Regions from separate parts of the Homo sapiens genome. Here all the other regions are linked to region 1. Evidence: promoter capture Hi-C in human tissues and cell types (Jung and others, 2019). All regions are on one chromosome and are shown on one strand. Each heading gives the region's core, a stretch centred on a gene start or on the middle of the fragment in contact. The rest is flanking DNA. Distances are from core to core; before and after follow the strand shown. Region 1 holds the start of GABARAPL2 (GABA type A receptor associated protein like 2). Region 2 overlaps GLG1 (golgi glycoprotein 1). Region 3 has its middle 64 kb from the start of LINC02125.

Region 1 (4,066 bases), core at 482-2,981:
TATCAGATGGAACCAAGTACTTCCGTTTGTCAATGTCAACAATCTGAGAGCCTGAGACCTTTTCCACAATCACCTGGGAAAGTAAAGAGAGGTCAGGACTGTGTTTCCTAAAGCGAGGCTCTGGCCTCACATGGCTGAGGAGCTGATGAACAGAGTGTGGGCAAGGAGGTGGGTGGGGAACTGCATAGCAGGAGAAAATATGTCTTTGGCTTAATAAACCACACGCTCTGGAGGTTAAGAATTGATATAAATGTGTTACAGGGAAACAGTAAGTGCTTTTCTGTGGTCAATTATGTAAGAGAAATGCAGCCCTTACCACTAAGCTTTTCCACATTTTATCTGGGCAGACCTAAGAATATCTGGGGAGGGTTTCATCCATGGCCCGTTACTCCAGGACCCCAGAATGGATCCACCTTCACACTACAGGAAACACTACTGTGTTCCCAAGGAACACAGGAGACAAGAATGGATGGACTAATTGGAATGCCTGGAATTTTAGCCAGCCAAGAACCAAGTTCTTCATTTGGCCTGTTGCTCCTCTCTGAACAAGTTTCAAATCCGTCCCTCCTACTCCTTTCCCCAGACAAATTATTCACAAGCAAAGAGCTACAATAACAGGCCTTAATGTCCATTAAAAATTAATAACGATTACAAAACTATCTCCCCAACCATGGAAGAAATATAACATTATATTTATTATTGACTAAGAAGAAAATATGGCAGAAGGGGTTTTCAGCGGCTTTTCACATTATTTTGGTCAGGCAAGGATGACAGGGTCAAGGTGAGATAACGGAGCTAGAAGTTAGGTAAAGATGGAGACAAAGTAAAAGATGAACGTCCTGAGACTCAAGTACCACTTCCAAGACCAAAATGACAGTCTCCCTCCACCACCATTCCCAAAAGTGGCAGTGACCTGTTGCCCTGTCCTAGAACATCGTTCCTTACATAATTGGCCAGGGAGCCCCGAGGCTGCAGACGGCTCGCTGGCCTAGATCGGGAGATTCAGCACTGAGGCACCCTGAACAGCACCAGCCCGAGCCCCTCACGCCCCGGCCCTGGGCGGCCTCATCCCGGTCTGGCCCGTCAGCTACTGTAACTGGGACTGGAACCTCAACTTGTCAACTGTTGAATGGCCTGGGGCCTATCACGGGTCCCAGACGACAGAGGTGACAGCGAGGTGAGGGGGCGGAGAGTCCACTCACCGGAACCCTGTCGGGATATTTCGCTCGAATCTTCGCGGACTCCACGCATCTGTGTTCTGTGGGAGAAACAAACGGGGCTGACGGCCGCGCCTGCCCACCGGTCGGTTCCCGGCCCCCGGCCCTCCTCCTCCTGCGCCCTGCGTACAACCCAGGCCCTGGTTCCGGCGTCCCCGGGGCCGCGGTCCTGTCCCCTACTAGCTCCCAGCAAGGCCCGCGGAGGGTGACATGGGGTCAGGGGGCCGCTGCCCGAGGCACCAGGGCATGGGCGACTCCAGCCCGCAGCAGGGCATCCGCCCCGCTCCACTCGGCCCAGGGCCGCCCGAGTGGGGGAGGGGGCCCACCCGCCGCCCCAGCCCCCAGCAGCCGGGCCGACGACCAAGTGCTTACCCAGCGAGTGGTCCTCCTTGAACATCCACTTCATGGCGGCGGCGGGAAGGGGACGGAACCGGCTCGCGGAGCCGCGGAGCTCAGCGCACCGAGCACAACAACAACGACGGCGGCAGCGGCAGCGGCAGCGACGGCGGCGACTACACGGCAGGCGGGACTTCCGGCTGTCGGAGCCTAGCAACCGGCCGGGGGCGGGGCTTCCGGCGCCATTTGTCAGGGCGCCACGCCAAGGGGCGGGGCCGCACGTAAAGGGGCGGGGCCGCGGAGGACCCCTTTGGGGGCTCCTGGGCTGCGGTGGCGAAGAAGTTGGTTATGGGGACGTCTGTGAGCAGTATCTGCGACATTGCTCGCAGGAATGTTCGGGGAACTGGTGACAGGAGTGGGGTCTCGGGAGCGTTGGTGGCGGAAAACGTCTGGCTGATAGTGTAGGGCTCTTACTGAGGGCTGTTTGGGGGTGTGGCTGATAGCTGAGGGCTCTTAGAGCGGTTCATAGGGGAAGTCTGGGGAATTGGTGACAAGAACGGTCTTTAGGGGTAAGAATGACATAAGGAGGGCTTTCTAGAGCTTGGCGATAACAAGGGAGCTGTTTAGGGCGTTGACAGTTTGGGGAGTATTGCTCGGAGTGGTGACAGGTTGGGGGCTCATTATGGGAGGGGAGGGTGTTTGAGGACACTGTTGGAAGCGGCACTGAGGACAACCCGGAGGTCCGTATTAGGGACAGCCGTAGTAGGTTGTCTTGGACCTAGAAATTGAATTTAAACAAATCCCGTTTTCTTCCTTTATTCGTGAATAAATATTTGAATAAACATTTACGAAAAGGTATCACAAATGCACATTTGAGGCGGGGTACGGTGGCTCACGCCTGTAATCCCAACACTTTGGGAGGCCGACGCGGGTGGATCACCTGAGGTCAGGAGTTGAAGACCAGCCTGGCCAACATGGTGAAACCCCGTCTCTACTAAAAATACAAAAATTAGCCAGGCATGGTAGTGGGCGCCTGTAGTCCCAGCTCCTCGGGAGGCTGAGGCAGGAGAATCGTTTGAACCAGGGAGGTGGAGGTGGCAGTGAGCCGAGATCACACCACTGCACTCCAGCCTGGGCAACAGAGCAAGACTCCGCCTCAAAAAAAAATGCACATTTGAGGAGTGTAACATCACTGATCACAGACCCCTTAATTTTAACTGGCAGAGGAGTTAGAGGTGACTGTCAGACTCGGAGAATTCCCCTGAGAGCTGGTCATGAGATGGGTTTCCTTATTTGGCTGTGGGAGTGGTTTAGCAATCACAGCCTGAGCTGTGTGTGTGTCACCTGCCCGGACATATGCTTTGAGGTTCTCCAATCAGTGATGTAATGCCTTTTTTCCAAGCAGACTCATCAAGGCAGTCTGGTCTGGGTCACCATCTGTTTATAAGCTGCTGAACATGTAGCAGGAATATTCACTTAATTGGGCACATGAACCCTGCCACGTGCTTGTGATTCTGATGCACCTGTAAAGCCTGTATGTTTGAATGTGGTAGTTCATCATTTCCTACACTGGAAATTCCTGATCGATGCTGTGGAATCTAGCTTCATTCTATAAGTATTTTTGTTATTTTAAGACTGTGTGTCTGAGTAACTAGAATAGGTTTTTTTGTTTCTTTGTTTTTGTTTTTGTTTTTTGGAGACAGGGTCTTTCTCTGTCACCCAGGCTGGAGTTCAGTGGCACAATCTTGGCTTACTGCAGTCTGCCTCCTGGGTTCAAGCGATTCTGCTGCCTCAGCCTCCTGAGTAGCTGGGACTACAGGGACACACCACCACACCCAGCTAATTTTTGTATTTTTGGTAGAGATGGGGTTTTGTCATGTTCGCCAGGCTGGTCTTGAACTTCTCACCTCAAGTAAGTGATTTGCCCGCCTCGGCCTCCCAAAGTGCTAGGATTACAGGTGTGAGCCACTGCATCTGTTTGTTTGTTTTTAATGAAGTGGAAAAAATCCTTTGAATTTCCTACTTAGAAATTATTGTTACATACAAGAGCTCTGTGCTAGGTGCTGGGGAAAAACAGTGAAGAAGACAGATGACATCCCTATTCTCATGGGTGGCAGCATGAGATATTCTTGTCCCCCTGACATATTCTAGTGGGATAAGACAAAAAATAAGTATGTTAGGTAATGATAGGTGCTATTTCGAAAAATAAAGCACAGTAGGTGACTAGAGAGTGTGGTGGGATGGAATGCTAATTAGATAAAGTGCCTGGCATATTCTAGGGAACCCCTGTGGCTGGAGCTGAATAAATGAGAGAGGAGAGTGTGTTATGAGACAAATTCAAAGATATCTAGAACAAAACTGTGTTGAGCTTTGAATTCCATGCAAAGAGCTTTGGATTTTATTTAGAATGAGATGAGAAGTCAGTGTAGGGGTTTAAGCAGAGACGTAACACAATCTGCCTTTCCTTTTCAAAAGGCTAGCTTAGTAGACTGTAGGCGCTGAGGGTGGAAGCA
Region 2 (4,066 bases), core at 818-3,317, 1.1 Mb after region 1:
CTCAAAACTCCTGCCCTCACGTGATCCTCCCACCTTAGCTCCCAGAGTGCTAGGATTACAGGCGTGAGCCACTGTGCCCAGCTGAATAGTTTTCTTGTCTTTTCTTTTTTTTTTTTTTGAGACAGAGTCTCGCTTTGTCACCAGGCTGTAGTGCAGTGGCACAATCTCAGCTCACTGCTACCTCCGACTCCCTAGTTCAGCCTCTGGAATAGCTTGGATTACAGGCACGCACCACTATGCCCAGCTAATTTTTGTATTTTTAGTAGAGATGGGATTTCACCATGTTGGCCATGATAGTCTCGATCTCCTGACCTCGTGATCTGCCTGCCTCGGCCTCCCAAAGTGCTGGGATTACAGGCGTGAGCCACTGCGCCTGGCCTAGTTTTCATTTTTGAAATACACATTGTGCAACATTTTGAGGAGACTCAGGGTAGCATGATTTAGCACATGGGTCAGACTTGGCTTCAAATTTTGGCTTTATCACTAAACAAACCGTCTGGGTGACCTGTTTTTGTTTTGTTTTGTTTTGTTTTAATCTTTTTGTTTTAAGTTTTCCTGGCCAGGCGCGGTGGCTCACGCTTGTAATCCCAGCACTTTGGGAGGCCGAGGTAGGCAGATCACGAGGTCAGGAGATCGAGACCACGGTGAAACCCCGTCTCTACTGAAAATACAAAAAAATTAGCCGGGCGTGGTGGCAGGCGCCTGTAGTCCCAGCTACTTGGAGAGGCTGAGGCAGGAGAATGGCGTGAACCCAAGAGACGGAGCTTGCAGTGAGCCGAGATCGCGCGCTGCACTCCAGCCTGGGTGACACAGTGAGACTCCGTCTCAAAAAAAAAAAAAAAAAAAAGTTTTCCCCATTGGCATTTACAGCTCAAAGAAGTTGGGGGAGCTTATAGTGAATATCTTAAATGTAGTCTTTTCTAAAAGCTTTAATTGTGTAGGCCAATGGAGATTGTTCTTTGGCTTTCATTTTTACCCTAATAGTTATCTTATTGATAGGATTTCCATGGGCAAAGCATTTGCATTATTAGTGCAGTAGTATAAAACCTGTTTCATGCAGAACAGTGACAGGAGAAGCCTGAATATCTGGAGTCTAAGCCTATTTTATGCTGCTAAAGCTTTTGCTAATTCTAAACTTTTCAGATGTTAGCATGTCTGATAGGTATATTGTATTACAGATAGAAATATGTACTTTTAATAGGTGGTGATTTCTGATGCTAATACATAGCATCACCCTTCGTAATGTTATGACTTACATCCTAACTTAGGGCGACAAGTCAGCAGTGAGTGCCAGGGGGAGATGCTGGATTACCGACGCATGTTGATGGAAGACTTTTCTCTGAGCCCTGAGATCATCCTAAGCTGTCGGGGGGAGATTGAACACCATTGTTCCGGATTACATCGAAAAGGGCGGACCCTACACTGTCTGATGAAAGTAGTTCGAGGGGAGAAGGGGAACCTTGGAATGAACTGCCAGCAGGCGGTAAGGAGACATTGCTATTGCCATTTTGAATGTCACATTTATCAGCTGAAGAGCCTCTTCCTGATGCTGTCCCACCTTGCTTTATATGGATCATCTGTGGTATCACATTGAACATTAGGTACTAATGATCAGAGACTGAACGTTGCTTCTTCAGGCATATCTTAGTAAGAATGTGACATTTGCTACAGAGCAAAAGTTTGAGCTCATAATCAATAAAAAGAATTGTCTTCTTAGATAGATAGAATGCATTATTTGCTAGAGTTCCTAAAGAAAGGGCAGCTTGCTAGACTGGATTTCCTAAACTCAGAATCAAGGCAAACCAGGTTCCAATCAATGACGACAGGCCCTCTACCAAGAGAGAATTTGCCTGTTGTAATAGATTTGATTGAGTTGAGGCTGAAAAAGAGTTGATATGAATTGAAATTTTTTCTAAGTTTCTAAATTTTTTCTGTTACTAATTTACCGCATGGCATGAATTCCTGGCCTGAAGGATCAAGAGAGCATGTCATTTTTGAAATCACACTATCTTTTCTTCATATACTAGGGCAACTATGCATGGAAGAGCCATTTTCTTTTTAATTTAATTTAATGTTAAGTTCCAGGATACATGTGCAGGTTTGTTACATGGGTAAACGTGTGCCATGGTGGGAGTCCTTTTTCTATCACTAAACCTCACAGTTAGCATACTTTGCTTGGGGAGATAAAGTTCTTCTTGATCTAGCGTTTATAAACAGTTGAATAACTGTAGGTCAGGTACAAAACACAAGTTAATGTATTAGAGATTTAGTACATCCCTTTCATTCCTGTTGTCCATGTTGATTACTTTTTACTGGATAGGAGTCTTAGAGCAACTTAACGTACCATGTGCACCAGTGTGCCCTGTGCAGTGAACTTTCCTTTGGGGAGCACAAGAGATAGTTTCGCTTTATATCCTAGAATAGTAGAAACTTGAGGCTCTCCTCCCTCAGTGTAACTTTAGAAAGCCACAATCAGTCTATTATTTTATAGTTAGCATTTTTATTAAAAACTGGATATCAACTCGAATTTTATTTTCCTGATAATCGTGTAAAATCAGATTTTTACAGTCTGAAACAAAACTTTGCGGTCTGAAACACAACAGTTTTACAGAATTTGGATGTGGAGTAAAATTATGTCTTAGCTTTAGTTACTCACCTTGACCCAGAGTAGACACCAGTGCATGTGTGCACGTGTGTCTGTGTGTGTGTGTGCGCACGCATGCGTGTCTATGCATCCCATGGTGGGAAAACAGACAAATGTAACTTCTTTAAAATACCAACCTGGGCAGGAGGGAAGGCTTCTGGAATCTGCCGTTTGATTTTGCCACAGTGTTGTTTCTAGGGTGCAGTTGTTACTGGTGACTTCCTTGGGAAACCTCTGTGCCAGTGTGGGTCCTGGGACCCAGACCAAAAATGAATCAGGAGACAGCCTATATTTGCACTTCATCCTTAAAGCAGCACAGAAAGGTTGTTGTGGCGGGGGTTAGGAATGAACCTACCTTTTTTTTTTTTGAGACAGAGTCTCACTCTTGTTGCCCAGGCTGGAGTGTAATGGCGCAACCTCTGCTCATAGCAGCATCCACCTCCCGGGTTCAAATGATTCTCCTGCCTCAACCTCCTGAGTAGCTGGGATTACAGTTGCCCACCACCACACCCAGCTAATTTTTGTATTTTTAGTAGAGATGGGGTTTCATCATGTTGGCTAGGCTGGTCTCAAACTCTGGACCTCAGGTGATCTTCCCGCCTCAGCCTCCCAAAGTGCTGGGATTACAGGTGTAAGCCACCATGCCCGGCCTAAACCTGTCTTTTTACTGAGGCTACACTTGTAGTAAGGGATACAGAAAAAAGAAAATAGACTGGTTTGACTTTATTTCGAGGCACCTAATTCACACCCAGGGCTTTTTAAAATGTAGCTTGTTGAAAGAACTAGTGACTCAGCTTGAAAGATACATAAGTACTTCCCACATCACCCTGTGTGTCCAGAAGAAAAGTACTTTCCAAATCTAGAGGGTGGCTTCAAGTAGTGAAACATATGGTTTTGCCCATATTAAATTTAGCCAAGTGAGGCTGGGCATGGTGGCTCACACCTGTAATCCCAGAACTTTGGGAGGCCAAGGCAGGCAGATCACTTGAGGTCAGGAGTTCATGACCAGCCTGGCCAACATGGTGAAACTCAGTCTCTATGAAAAATACGAAATTAGCCGGGCGTGGTGGCATGCACCTGTAGTCCCAGCTACTCGGGAGGCTGAGGTAGGAGAATCGCTTGAACCTGGGAAGCAGAGGTTACAGTAAGCTGAGATCACACTACTGCACTCCAGCCTGGGCAATAGAGCAAGACTCCACCTCAAAAAATAAAAAATTAAAACATTAAAATAAAATAAAAAATAAATTTAGCCAAGTAGGGAAGAAGCGCTTTATTTTTATTTTTATGGACCCAGGGTTTTTAGCTTTTGCCCACAAAAATTGAAGGCCTAAATGATCCAAAGGGAGAAAAATGTCCTTAGTGTTCTACTACAGTAGCCATCCCCAGTCAAATTGACGAATGTTTTAAAGTAATTCATTTTGG
Region 3 (4,066 bases), core at 1,034-3,533, 1.0 Mb before region 1:
GCTGCTCGTAAGGATGAGACAGCAGAGACTGGCACTTAGGGAGACTCCCTTTATGGTAGCCTTACACGATTATTCATAAGGAAGTGGAAAGAGGTGTTACTAGTAAGCATGTTCTGTGTGGTATTCCGGGTGCCCATGCGCAGTAGCTGTACATGCTTGCTCATACATCACATGTCACATTAGCATCTTAAATCTCCACCCAGGGTTGTGTTTTTACTATTATAATGAGCAAAGAGTCAGTTCAAAGACAGGTAAAATCAAAATTTGCGTGCTCGGCCGGGCGCGGTGGCTCACGCCTGTAATCCCAGCACTTTGGGAGGCTGAGGCGGGCGCATCACTAGGTCAGGAGATCGAGCCCATCCTGGGTAACACGGTGAAACCCCGTCTCTACTAAAAATACAAAAAATTAGCCAGGCGTGGTGGCGGGCACCTGTAGTTCCAGCTACTCGGGGGGCTGAGGCAGGAGAATGGCGTGAATCCAGGAGGCAGAGGTTGCAGTGAGCCGAGATCATGCCACTGCACTCCAGCCTGGGCGACAGAGCGAGACACTGTCTCAAAAAAAAAACACAAAAAACAAAAAAATGAGATGTGCATGCTGTCTAGAAGGGAAAGTCCCTACTGAAGATCGCTTTGCTTGCATGAGCACAATTACAATGCGAAGGCTGAGGCTTATTGTGTTGACTGAGTGGTCACCATGGTTGCTGCCTCCCAAGAGAACATGGTCACTTCCTTGAGTACCTATCCTTTCTCAGAACTGTATTAGAAAATATGATACACCCAAGGACTTATGTAAGACCATTGCAATATTGAAAACTCCCAAATTTTTCCAATTCAAATGCACTGCCTAATTTATTATTAGAACTGTATTAGAAAATATGATATACCCATTGACTTATCTAAGGCCATTGCGATATTGAAAACTCCCAATTTTTTCCAATTCAAATGCACTGCCTAATTTATTATCCTCAAACTATACCCTCTTTCTTTTAATGAAAATACTTATAACAGTGTTTGTAATTGTCAACCCACTGTGTGTGTCTTTGTGTATATATATATATCACGTTATATATATGTTCATGTTATATATATGTTCATGTTATATATATAACATGTTTATATATATATATTACATGAACTCAAAAGAAGAAAGTTTTGCATCAAATAATTATTGAGCAACCAGCTGTCAGTTCTACATGGTGGCATGATTACTGCTGAACAGGCAAAAATAAATAACTGATTATGACAGCACGCTTTCTTAAAATGTGAAAAATTGGAATGGAGGCTAGCATATTTTATTAAGAGCAAATAAGAGATACGAGGGCTGGACAATATAAGAATTATAACTGAAGAGCAAAGTTTTCTGTGCATCACACTTCAGGGTGCACCAGAAGTACTTTATGTATATTTCCCATTTTAACACACAGAACACTGAAAAGACTTACAGTCAAGGGTCAAGCTTTAATTAAATGAATAATTTTTACAACTTCATTAAGGACATCCTTTTTTTTTTTTTTTTTTTTTTTTTTTTTTTGAGACAGAGTGTAGCTCTGTCGCCCAGGCTAGAGTGCATTGGCGCGATCTCGGCTCACTGCAAGCTCCGCCTCCCGGGCTCAGGCCATTCTCCTGCCTCAGCCTCCCGAGTAGCTGGGACTACAGGCGCCCGCCACCGTGCCCGCCACTACGCCTGGCTAATTCTTTTGTGTTTTTAGTACAGACGGGGTTTCACCGTGTTAGCCAGGATGGTCTCGATCTCCTGACCTCCTAATCCGCCCGCCTTGGCCTCCCAAAGTGCTGGGATTACAGGCGTGAGCCACCACGCCTGGCCACATTAAGGACATTCTTAAATGAGTTTGGCTATTTTTTTCTTTCTTTTTTGCTTCCCTGTAAGAGAGGTAAAAGAAGGTTTATCTTAATTATGTTATCATATTATATATATGATACTTTAATTAAACTTTATTAATGTATTTGTTGATAAATAGATTGGTGTGCGGGAGGGGTAAATCTGTTTTGTTAATAGCAGAAGTTGCATTTGAGCATAACCGGGGTGCTTCAAGTTCTGGAGGTGAAAGTAATCAATTATTCCTTATTCTTTGCACCGGTACTTCCTTCCTTTTTTATGAGGTGCGACACCAGAAACTGACCCTTCAATTATATATGTACAGAAAACAACTTATCTTTCATCTTTATTTGATCAATATTTACTCAATTAACCCTGTGCTCAGTGCTGGGGACTGAATGTAAGACACAAAAAGACACATCTCCTGACCTCATGGGGTTTAGTTACAGTCGTGTTACAAAATTGTGCCTTCATCCTAAGAACAAGGAGAAAGTGCTAAAGAGAAATAGTGAGGGAGAGATGACATAAAGACAGGCTTGCAGAGTAGAGAATGGCTGCCATGTTGGTGTATTAGTTTGTTCTTGCACTGCTATAAAGAAATATCTGAGACTGCATAATTTATAAAGAAAAGAGATTTAAATTGCTTCACAGCTCTGCAGGCTATACAGGAAGCATAAAGGCTTCTGCTTCTGTGGAGACCTCAGGAAACTTCCAATCATTGCGGGAGGAAAAGGAGGAGCAAGGCATCTAACATGGTAGGAGCAGCAACAGAGAAAGGTGTGTGTGTGGAGGGGGGTGGGGGGTGCTACACACTTTCAAACATCTGGATCTAATGAGAACTCAGTCACTACGGCAAGGACAGTACCAAGAAGGGTGGTGTTAAACCACTCGGGAGAAACAGCCCCGTGATCCAATCACCTCCCACCAGGCCTCACCTCCAACATTAGGGATTGCAATTCAACATGAGATTTGATGAGGACACAGATGCAAACTATATCAGTTGAGAAGTTTACAGTCCTGATATGATAGGCTAATTAGGCAGCCACTTCAGTGAACTATCCAAGAGATGGCAATCTTGAATGGGGATTTTTGGAGAAAGACATATGGGATAGATTTATAATATAGTTAAGAAATAAATAGACTGTGGAGATGGATCACATAGGGAGTGCGATGAACGTGGACTCCTGGCTTGTTTTTAACTTTTCACAGCTAGGTGTATAGCATTGCTCTTCCATGAAATGTGAAACGCTGGAAGACACCAACAATGGGGAGTCGCAGAAAGATGCATTGCTGGAGTAAGGCGTAGAGCAAGAAAAATGAGGCTGATCTTCATGTCAACCCAGTGGTGGGTCTACAGGATGTAAAAGAGAGGGTATGTCAGAATCTTCTAGCTGGTACTCTGCAAGGATGAATATTCTATACTCTGGGGAAAAAAATGCACTGTCAAACATTTTGATTTTCCTGTCAATGTCTTGGGAGCTAGACCCTATCCTGTGTCTGAGTAGAGGTTTCCACCAAGAGTATGATTGTCACTGACACTAGGGCAGAAAGAAATCAGGCATTGACAAGAAACTGCCCTTTCTTTTGGACTGTGGCCTTTATGCTTGGGGGTGAGAATTGTGCCACCTGGGCAGGGGGACAAAAGTACTGAGGACTAAGTAAGAGAACCCTTGGAATGGCATGATTGGTGGATTCTAGGAAATGTGATAATGGATTTCCAACTGAATGCACTTTTTCTGCATATATAGTCTGTTATTTCAAACCCTCCGTAATTTTTATCTTAAAAGCTGTGATGTCATCATCATTGTATCTGGTGAATTAAGAGGAAGACCTGAGCTTCAGCCAGAAGCAGCTGCTCATGAAAAACAAGGGTAAGCTAAACTCTAGTTTGGTCACTAAGTAATCTAATGTGGGCCAATTGGCTGAAGTAACTTATAAGTACAAAAATGAGTTAGTTGAATCTGACACCATTCTTTTGGGATCTCTAGAAAAGCCTAGGGGAGAGAAGATACCTACCTAGAAGATCTAACTTTCTGAAGTCTCAAGACAGGAGCTCAAACTATTTGTATTTGGGTTTTAAAGAAATGGATGGTATTTGAAAGCTGTGTGAATTAGGCTAAAGTTTGCCTTGGTTCCACTGAACTGTCTGGAAATCAGTAGGAGATTCTACACTTCTCCATAAACCACTCCTTCAATGGGAATGCATTCGTATAGCAATAAATCATTCCA

The links. Contacts are between HindIII fragments. The study calls those that stand out against the background at their distance.
Region 2: a fragment that was not itself captured here is called in contact with the fragment with the promoter of GABARAPL2 in region 1 in 1 of the 25 tissues and cell types used here (mesenchymal stem cells).
Region 3: a contact is called between a fragment that was not itself captured here and the fragment with the promoter of GABARAPL2 in region 1, in 1 of the 25 tissues and cell types used here (pancreas).

The regions. Positions count from the first base shown.
Region 1 is chr16:75,564,044-75,568,109 of GRCh38, reverse strand. It overlaps GABARAPL2 (GABA type A receptor associated protein like 2), which reads right to left and starts at 1,731. Exons shown (of 4, transcript NM_007285.7): 1 at 1,590-1,731; 2 at 1,203-1,258; 3 at 1-73. The coding sequence starts at 1,623. RefSeq lists an enhancer at 516-1,269 and a silencer at 1,259-1,668. The HindIII fragment of the contact is 9,271 bases long and covers 1-4,066 here.
Region 2 is chr16:74,488,418-74,492,483 of GRCh38, reverse strand. It overlaps GLG1 (golgi glycoprotein 1), which reads left to right. Exons shown (of 26, transcript NM_001145667.2): 8 at 1,269-1,483. Among named protein-coding and RNA genes, the nearest start is that of CLEC18B, 69 kb to the right of the region's middle. The HindIII fragment of the contact is 3,618 bases long and covers 259-3,876 here.
Region 3 is chr16:76,569,107-76,573,172 of GRCh38, reverse strand. No RefSeq gene overlaps it. Among named protein-coding and RNA genes, the nearest start is that of LINC02125, 64 kb to the left of the region's middle. The HindIII fragment of the contact is 5,663 bases long and covers 1-4,066 here.